Linked DNA regions of Homo sapiens: region 1 is linked to region 2. The links are contacts of gene promoters, found by promoter capture Hi-C in blood cells and fetal thymus (Javierre and others, 2016). All regions are on one chromosome and are shown on one strand. The core of a region is centred on a gene start or on the middle of the fragment in contact, and the rest is flanking DNA. Distances in the headings are between cores, read along the strand shown.

Region 1 (4,921 bases), core at 1,239-3,738, 1.5 Mb after region 2:
CCTTTTTTTTTTTTTTTTTGAAACATCCAGAGTGGTTTCAGCTTCCTATGGTGAACCCTGACTGTATCCTTTGTGTGCTAGTGGCTTTCCATCCCCTTACCTCCAACCATTCTCTACCTTTCAGTGCCCTACTTTGTGCCCCAGGAGTCTGTCCTGTATGAACTGCATGTTCCGAGCCCCTCTACCCTCTGGCCTTGGTTGGTTTTGGATCATGGGAAGCACCACCAAGAGATCAGAAAGTAGGAGGTGAGAGAAATCAGGATATTTATCCCTTCTTCCTTTCAACTTCTCACCAGACTGTGGGTCCCTTACCCTGTCAACTCTGTGAAGAGTCCTTTCATTAAATTTTCCCCATTTAAACACATTGAATATGATATCTGTTTCCTGCCTTGACTATGACTCCTATCAGGGGTTTAATAATCAAACCATGAGTCTAAAAAACAGTAACAGACTGTCTCCTATCTTCCATTTTATAAAGTAGAAGAGCTTTACAAAATGTAAATCTGAATATATCATGCTTCTTCTTTAAAACTTCAATGGCTCTTTGTTAACCCCTGTCACTGTACCCAACTCTAAGTTGCAGCCAGACAGAACTAATTTCAGTTCCCTCTGCAACATGGTCTCTCTTCCTTTGAGCCTCTGCACAGACACTACCTCCTTCCTGGAAACTGCTCCCCACCCATGCTCATTATTCAGGCCTCAGCTTAAAGGCCTGAATTCAGGCTTCACTTACCCTAGAAGGCATTCCATAAACCTACTACTTATCCCTGTTAGCTTTTATAGTCTCCCACAGCAGTCTCCACTCACCATCATACACAGACAGCACTCAGTGTTACATTGTACTGCAACTGCCTGCTTACTTCTCTGTGTCCTCCAGTAGACCGTGAGATCTAAGACAGGGACGGCATTTCAAATCCATAGGACCTATTAAGGTGCTTGGCACCTAATAGACACTCAATAAATATTGGATAGTTCCTGAATGTTATTGAAAAAGATTGAACTGTCCTCCTCTGGTCACCATTCTCTCTCTCTTTTCATTCGCTGACAAAAAAATCAGAAAAACATCAATAAAAATATAATTTTTATTTACCCACATTACTTTGTCACTATCTTACTTTTCACTGTCATCTTTTCACTTACTTTGTCACTTTTCATCTTACTTTGTCACTATCTTTTATGATGACTTCTCTTGCCAAGATTACCAATGACCTCCTAGACCTTCAATTCAGTAGCTTCTTTTCAGTCCAAATCCTCTGGGACTGCTCTGCAGCACTCTCTTGAAATGGTCCTCTGTCCTACATGGATCACAGATTGCTCTCTCTCTTTCTTTCTCTCTCTCTTCTCTCTCTCACACACACATACTCACATACCACACACACACACTTTAGTTGATCTGTTTGCATATCTCTGTTTTTCTCCATTCCTTTATAAGCCCCTATGTCTTATTCATTTGCATCTCTAGTACCCAGCATAGTGCCTGGCACACAATAGAACTTTGTAACTACGAATGTTACATGATTAAAACCGTCTGGGCTTCCAGGCCATCTCTTTCTTCATCTCCTTTTTCTCTTGACTGCTTGTTCTTAGGCACCTTCACGATCTCCTCTTTGCCTACCCTTTAAATATTCTTCAGAGTAACTCATCCTTATCCACCTTTTGGGCTTCAGCCATCAGCGATTACCTCAATTCCCAAATGTATATTTTCAATTGCCAATGCATTTTTATGAGCTAAGGCTGCCTCTCTCTCCCTAGATGTACTGCAAGCAGATCCCATAAAGACTCATTATCTCTTCCATTCCCAACCTGCCCTCCTCTTGCTTTCAATGTTCAGTCAATGAAATTAACATTCATCCAGTGCTCTAAATGACAAATCTCAAAGTCCCCAAATGCATCTCACTGTCTTTGCCCCCTGTCCTGCAGGGTAAGAAGCTTTATCCATTACCAAATCCCCACCCCCGAACCTGCCTCTGAATCTTTTTTTTTTTTTAATTTATTTCTCCTAGAACAACTTACCCCACTTTGTCCCAAATCATTTTCATCCTTTGAAATTCAGAAAACTGATTAACTTCAATTAATTGCTTCTCTGAGTTCTACATAGCTTGGTGCTAGGTTGTGTTTTTTTAATGACCTGTCTAAACATGTCTTCCTCACTAGATTGTAAAATTCTTGAGGGCAGTTATTGGCTTTTGGTTATGGGGTCTAGCCGATGATTGACATTTTAAGCAATTTTTTTATATGAATGAATGAGTAAACGAGTAAACTGAGAAAGAAAATATTTTCAATTAAACCCTTTCAGAATTACTGTGGCAGAATCTGAGTGAAAATGACAATAACTCAGTTTAAAAACATGAACATCACGTAACCAACTTTGTAACATTCATTGTAACAATACATGCATGATTACAGAAGGCAGGTAATTGTTATTCCCCTAGGGAGATTTTTTTTTAAGCCTGCTCTGAAGATTTTGTTTTGTTTTTAAGACAGGGGCTTGTTCTGTTGCCCAGGCTAGAGTGCAGTGGCGCGATCTCCGATCATTGCAAGCTCCGCTTCCCCGGCTCAGGCTAACCTCCCTCCTCAGCCTCCCGAGTAGCTGGGATTACAGCGTAGCCATGCCAGACTGCCTGCAGAATTTGATTTTAAGCATTTCAGTTCTCAGTATAGACAGACAAATTTTTAAAGGGAGGGTATTATTTTAACTGCTTCTTTGCTCTTTTATCTTTTGTCCTGGGTGACAGGAACTAGATAAGCTATACCCCAGAGAAAGCGCCTGCAGCAGTACGGTGCCTGGGCCCTTGATAGTCCCTCAGCACATCATTTTCCTTTTTCCTACCTTATCTTCCTTTTATATTTGAAGGCTCGTGAATTTAGAGTACCTAACGGAAATTTTAGTTTTAGGATTTCAATTTGACCAAAACAACGCTGAGATTTTAATTGCCTCTATTAACCCATGGCTCTCAAACCCAAAGGAAAGAAACCACTGGAGGGGGTGGGGGAGAAAGGAGGCGGTGCAAAAACTGAAAAGAAAGGCGGAGAGGAAGCGGTAGAAGGAAGCTTTCTCTGTCGGGTTTGTCTTTTTTTAACCCCAGAAAGGCGTGACGTGCTAACTGCCGTCGCGGGTTAGAGTCCGCGGCCAAGCCCGCGCCCGCCCACAAAGTCCCCGCCCTCCCTCCGGCTTCCGCCCCGCCGTGCGCTGCAGGCCGCGGCCGCTGGGGGCGCCCCCGACCCCCGAGGCGCTGAGGCGGCGGTTCCTCGAGCCTCGCCTCTCCCGACTCCCAGACGGGCGGCAGCGGCGGCGGAGGCGGCGGCGGCGGCGGCGGCGAGCTGAGCACCAAAAGGGCGCTCACCTCCCCGGGCGAGCTGCAGCACGACCGCTCCCCGCGGGCGGTCGGGGTCCGCGCCGCAGCTGCCGCCGCGTTCCGGCCCAGGCTGCCGCGAGAGGCGGCGGCAGCGGCCCCGGCCGCGGCCGGCCTGCGGCGCCCCCCGGCCGCGCCCCCGCGCACAGCTCGCGGCCCCGGCCATGGGGCTGGGCTGATCCGGGGCTCGGCCAAGCTGAGGCGGCGGCGCCCGGCCGTGCGCCCAGCTTGCAGGCGCCTGGCTCTCACGATGATGAAGAAGAAGAAGTTTAAGTTTAAGGTGGACTTCGAGCTCGAGGAGCTCTCCTCAGTGCCCTTCGTCAATGGGGTCCTCTTCTGCAAGATGCGGCTGCTGGACGGCGGCAGCTTCACCGCCGAGTCCTCCAGGTAACTCGCCTCCCGCGCCGCCTCGCCCCTTTCTGCTTGGCCAGGGCTTGTTGGATGGGCAGCATCTCTCCTTGGCCCATTTGCTCGCCTTTCCCTAGGGACCGCTCTAAAATCAGTCGAATTTATTGATCTGCAAAGTGCTTTGCAAATGGGTTCTTCTCAGCTGGCCTTGGTTCCTGCGCTCCTGACTCCAGATGGTGCCTGGTATCTGCTCTTCCCTCCCAAATCCTCTAGGAATGGGAGCAATGGCCAGAGAGGGAGGATGCTTCTGTTTTCTCTTAAGACATTTCCATATTTGTGAAATGCAAAGTAGAACTTGAGCTGTTAAAAACTAAAATAACCCAAACTGCAGGAGTTCCAAGAGCCCAGCTCTGAACAGAAACCTGTGCTTAGCACAATTCCTTCTCCCTTGTAGATTACAAGGGGACTTGGCCACCCACTCTGAGGCTGGGGTAGGCCTGGCCAGGCTTGACTTGAGTCAAGTGCTCCTGGCAGACGAGACAACGGTCTGTGCCTCATCAGAGAGCGGCGTCTCCAGTTAGGCGCTAATGCTGGATGAATTAGTCTTGAAGTGGCCACTAGTAGGTCTCCTTGTGGGAGGGCTTAGAGCCAGATGGGGAGCCCAGGCCCTGCCCTCATTTTAAAATGAGCCCCTGGGCACTCCCAGAGAGAGGCATTAGCAGGTTACAGAATGAAGCTATTAAATAATAGGTGTGGCATTAATAATAGGTGTGGCAGTGTTTCTTGAGTAATTTCAGAGCTACTCACAGGTTGACAGATGTACCCTAAGGTGCTTTCTTTAAAATATATACATAGAGAGAGAAAACAATTTTTTAAATGAACTTTTGAGTTCCTGAGATCAAGAAGGGTTAAAAGTTAATGTTATTTTGCCCATATATACTGGTCTTAGGCTTTATTTCTGCCCTAAAAATATTCTACTTAAAAAAAATTCCGTCATCCCATTTATAGTATAAAGGAAATAATGTCACTGGATTGTGGAATTGGGGCTAGAAACTTGTCTTTGGGGCAATATTGAAGCCTATGGAAGCCAGAAAATGTCTAGTTGGCTAAACCAAAGGATATATGAAATTAATAGTTTGCCGAAGACAGTTTTTAAAATTAAACTGTGGTGACACATCAGTGGATATTCAGCTAAGTATTTTAAACACCTGTAAGAGAAG
Region 2 (4,735 bases), core at 381-2,880:
ATTGGTCTGAGGTAGACCCAGGCATCGGTATTTTTTAAAAAGCTCCTTAGAGAATTCTAATAAGCAGCCAGGATGGAGAGTCTTGAGTTAGAAGTAGAGTACAGCTAAGGATGCCATATCAATAAACCTATTCTGCTAATGAAAGATTAATAGAGAAAATAGGATGAAAGAACTTTGATCCCAGACAAGGAATACAGGCCTATTGGTTACAAGGACATAATTCAAGACCACAAGAAAATAAAAATCCATTTTACTCTGAGTGACTTTTTTTTCAAGCTGGCAGAAAATGGCATTATGCCCACCTTGTTAATAACACGGACACCCATACAGATGCCACACATATTTAAAAACATATTTTATTTCCATTATGGACAACAAAAAGAGAGTAACAGCTGATGGTTGACTACAAGAAAAATATAAGAGAAAGAGGAGAGTGTCAATATTGCCCGGACAAGAAAACACAGGAAAAAATGAATTGCATTGAGAAAGTGATTAAAAGAAATTGATTCCGTTATTTCTGAGAGAAAAAAACGCATATATATATAGAATACACCTAGCAACGAGTTTGCTTGTATCACATGGCTCTTGAGTCTGCACTTTTCAGGATTTAACTCTTAAGAGAGCCACAGAATTATCAGAGCAGAGCCGAAAGCCAAGTAACTATTCTTCTAAGTAGAACCAGAAACCTAGTTCTTCCCCAACTGCAATGAAGATTCGCTGGTGGGTGAATGGGCAACTAAAGGCCAGAGAAGTTCTATTATTTGCCCTAAATCACTCAACTAATTAGTGGTCATACTGGAATCAGAACCAAGATTTTGCATTGTTAGGTTTTAATTTTGTTACATTTGCACTCTAACTGCACTGAAAACAGAAAAAAGAAATGCGTAGTGCAGTTTCTAAATTGCCACAGCTGGAGCACTTTAAGAGCTACAATTGTCCAGTTAAGGCGGTAGTGGGTGGATGGTGCTGCCATGTTAATTCGGTGGAATAAAACCAGAGGTGAGTTAGGCCGGGCGCGGTGGCTCACGCTTGTAATCCCAGCACTTTGGGAGGCCGAGGTGGGCGGATCACCTGAGGTCGCGAGTTTGAGACCAGCCTGACCAACAGGGAGAAACCCCGTCTACCAAAAATACAAAATTAGCCGGCCCTGGTGGCATGCGCCCGTAATCCCAGCAACTCGGGAGGCTGAGGCAGGAGAATCGCTTGAACCCAGGAGGCGGAGGTTGCGGTGAGCGGAGATCGCGCCATTGCACTCCAGCCTGGGAAACAAGAGCGAAACTCCCTCTCAAAAAAAACAAAAAACAGAAAAACAAACAAAAAAAACAGAGGTGAGTTCAGCAGAAGAAACAAAGGTGGATTATTAGTCTTAAGTGTGCGTGCCTACTTCAGGAAGGGAGTGAAAGCAAAAAACTGAGGAGCTAAGGGTGGGAGGGGGAATGAAAGGATCTCAGAATGTGGGCGTCGTGGGTGGGAAAAGGGATGCCAGGACACCAGAAGAGCAATACAAAACAGCTCCCGTGAGCAGGCACAGGAGACCTTCCGCGCCGCCGGCCGGGCGACCCCGCAGGAAGTAGGAAGGACGAGCGCGCACTACAAGTCCCAGAAGCCCCCGTTTCCTGGAGCCCGCGCCGTGCCGCGCTACGCCCGCCGGGAGCCGGGCAGAGCGGCCAAGATGTCGCAGCCCAAGAAAAGAAAGCTTGAGTCGGGGGGCGGCGGCGAAGGAGGGGAGGGAACTGAAGAGGAAGATGGCGCGGAGCGGGAGGCGGCCCTGGAGCGACCCCGGAGGACTAAGCGGGAACGGGACCAGCTGTACTACGAGTGCTACTCGGACGTTTCGGTCCACGAGGAGATGATCGCGGACCGCGTCCGCACCGATGCCTACCGCCTGGGTATCCTTCGGAACTGGGCAGCACTGCGAGGCAAGACGGTACTGGACGTGGGCGCGGGCACCGGCATTCTGAGCATCTTCTGTGCCCAGGCCGGGGCCCGGCGCGTGTACGCGGTAGAGGCCAGCGCCATCTGGCAACAGGCCCGGGAGGTGGTGCGGTTCAACGGGCTGGAGGACCGGGTGCACGTCCTGCCGGGACCAGTGGAGACTGTAGAGTTGCCGGAACAGGTGGATGCCATCGTGAGCGAGTGGATGGGCTACGGACTCCTGCACGAGTCCATGCTGAGCTCCGTCCTCCACGCGCGAACCAAGTGGCTGAAGGAGGGCGGTCTTCTCCTGCCGGCCTCCGCCGAGCTCTTCATAGCCCCCATCAGCGACCAGATGCTGGAATGGCGCCTGGGCTTCTGGAGCCAGGTGAAGCAGCACTATGGTGTGGACATGAGCTGCCTGGAGGGCTTCGCCACGCGCTGTCTCATGGGCCACTCGGAGATCGTTGTGCAGGGATTGTCCGGCGAGGACGTGCTGGCCCGGCCGCAGCGCTTTGCTCAGCTAGAGCTCTCCCGCGCCGGCTTGGAGCAGGAGCTGGAGGCCGGAGTGGGCGGGCGCTTCCGCTGCAGCTGCTATGGCTCGGCGCCCATGCATGGCTTTGCCATCTGGTTCCAGGTGACCTTCCCTGGAGGGGAGTCGGAGAAACCCCTGGTGCTGTCCACCTCGCCTTTTCACCCGGCCACTCACTGGAAACAGGCGCTCCTCTACCTGAACGAGCCGGTGCAAGTGGAGCAAGACACGGACGTTTCAGGAGAGATCACGCTGCTGCCCTCCCGGGACAACCCCCGTCGCCTGCGCGTGCTGCTGCGCTACAAAGTGGGAGACCAGGAGGAGAAGACCAAAGACTTTGCCATGGAGGACTGAGCGTTGCCTTTTCTCCCAGCTACCTCCCAAAGCAGCCTGACCTGCGTGGGAGAGGCGTAGCGAGGTCGGAGGGGAAAGGGAGATCCCACGTGCAAGTAGGGGGAATATCTCCCCCTTTTCCCTCATAGCCTCTAGGGAGGGAGAGTGACTTCATTCTCCATTTGAAGAGATTCTTCTGGTGATGTTTACTTAAAAAGTGATCCCCCTCAACAACGGATACAGCGTGCTTATTATTGGGCATTTAGCCTCAAAAGCATGTAGTACCAAGCACTTGTATTTCCGTATATTTTGTTTCGCGGGGGAGTGAGGGGGAAGAACACGGATGAAAATGTCAGTTTTTGAAGGGTCCATGCACATCCCTGACACCTCACACCTTATCTAAGTCTGAAGCTGGGGAGAAAGGGGTTCATTTAGACTTCATACATTTCCAGTACGACTTTAGTATCTCTCCAGAGCCATATTTTCTCAGTCCGAATTAATTCCCCCTCCCTAGGTGCCTGTAGGCTATGGTACTTCTTCCTCATTGTTTTCTAGGTAAACTTCACTACTGGTAATTAAGGGGAAGGATATGAGGAAGCAGTTTAAATAGCCCTGTTCTCATTACTCTGACCACATACATCATAGGGTGCTAAAGTTGATGAACACATTAATCCGTTAAGTAAAATGGACTTTGTAATTGTACAGCATACCTAAGAAACTCAGAAGGTGCATTTAAGAGAGAGACCTGAAAGAAATAGTATGGATTTTTAAAAATTCTTGTCTCTACTATTATAACCAAAAAATATTTCTTGTATGTCCCATAAAAATATTTGTGTAATTCTTATGAAACAGGCTGGTAGAGGAGGTTTCTGAGCCTAGCCCAAGGGCTTATTCATCACCATGGGTAAATTATTTAAACTCACTTAATTAAGGAAAATATTTTCCCAGCTAGAAAAGTATACTCATTCTCATTTAAACTCTCTCATTTGGAGGGATCATGTGAGTTGGCCTACTTACAAGTAGTGAAAGTTCCCTTTTCAGTTTTGTTTTGTTTTGTTTTGTTTTTCTCTTTCACTCAGCCAAATGTGAAAGTTGTGAATTTAGGAAAATCACTTGTAATGAAGTGTGAATCTTGTTATCAAATTTATTTCTCTGATGTTTCCTTCCTTATCCTTGTAGCCAATAAAACATTGACATTCTCACGTTTTATAGATGAGGTAAAAAGTCTTGTGTGCTGTGAGTTATAATGCTTTTGCCTTTTTAATATTATTAGTTCTTAAGTGTTACAGCCCCTTCAGAATATAACTTCAGGACAATTCAAACTATGCTTAATGTATGATTTTCGAGCTTCTGTATGCTAAGAAAATAGGTGTGAAAAACTGGTGTTCTGAAATAGCCTAACATTTATTGTAATTCTGAATTTTCTGCCCTTTTATTCATTGCATATTAAAGTATTAGAGTATAAAAACTAATTTGCTAAACTTTGGTTGTATATAACACAGATCTTCCATCATGGAGAGATATACATGTACAAAATTATCAATTTACAAGATAATTGAGTAGCAAGCAGTACAGTTGTAACCGTCACCATTTTGATGCTAAGATAGTGATCATCTCATGTAAATGCTACAGTCACAGCAAGCTAGACTTAAGCTAGAGGGAAAATAGAGCTCCTTATAAGGTGTTCTATGTTTTAAATCAAATATTTATTTAGAGTTTGAGTGTGTGATTTTGAGTAGGTTTCTGGTGGTTTGGTTTGTTTTTTAAAAAAAACTTGATTTAACAATTCCTTTACTAAGTGATAAATGAGAATATTCTTCCAAATTCTATTTTTTATATATTTGATAAATACTATAGAGTTATCATTATCAGTATAAGCACATAAAGGGAACCTCAGTTAAAACTTGGAGGAACTATAGAAGTAAAGGGTATGTATTCCATAGTTAAAGTAAGCTT

What was found. The method cuts DNA at HindIII sites, captures the fragments that hold promoters and counts their contacts. A CHiCAGO score of 5 or more calls a contact.
Region 1: a fragment that was not itself captured here is called in contact with the fragment with the promoter of PRMT6 in region 2 in 1 of 17 cell types (fetal thymus); the score reaches 8.9 in fetal thymus.

Annotation. Positions count from the first base shown.
Region 1 is chr1:108,556,826-108,561,746 of GRCh38, forward strand. EEIG2 (EEIG family member 2) reads left to right here and starts at 3,275. Exons shown (of 11, transcript NM_001010883.3): 1 at 3,275-3,740. The coding sequence starts at 3,604. RefSeq lists a silencer at 2,936-3,475 and enhancers at 3,866-3,965, 4,429-4,478. The HindIII fragment of the contact is 1,122 bases long and covers 1,928-3,049 here.
Region 2 is chr1:107,055,044-107,059,778 of GRCh38, forward strand. It overlaps PRMT6 (protein arginine methyltransferase 6), which reads left to right and starts at 1,631. Exons shown (of 1, transcript NM_018137.3): 1 at 1,631-4,251. The coding sequence starts at 1,673. The coding sequence ends at 2,800. RefSeq lists enhancers at 1,863-1,912, 1,933-2,072, 2,083-2,212, 2,223-2,432. The HindIII fragment of the contact is 2,330 bases long and covers 1-1,694 here.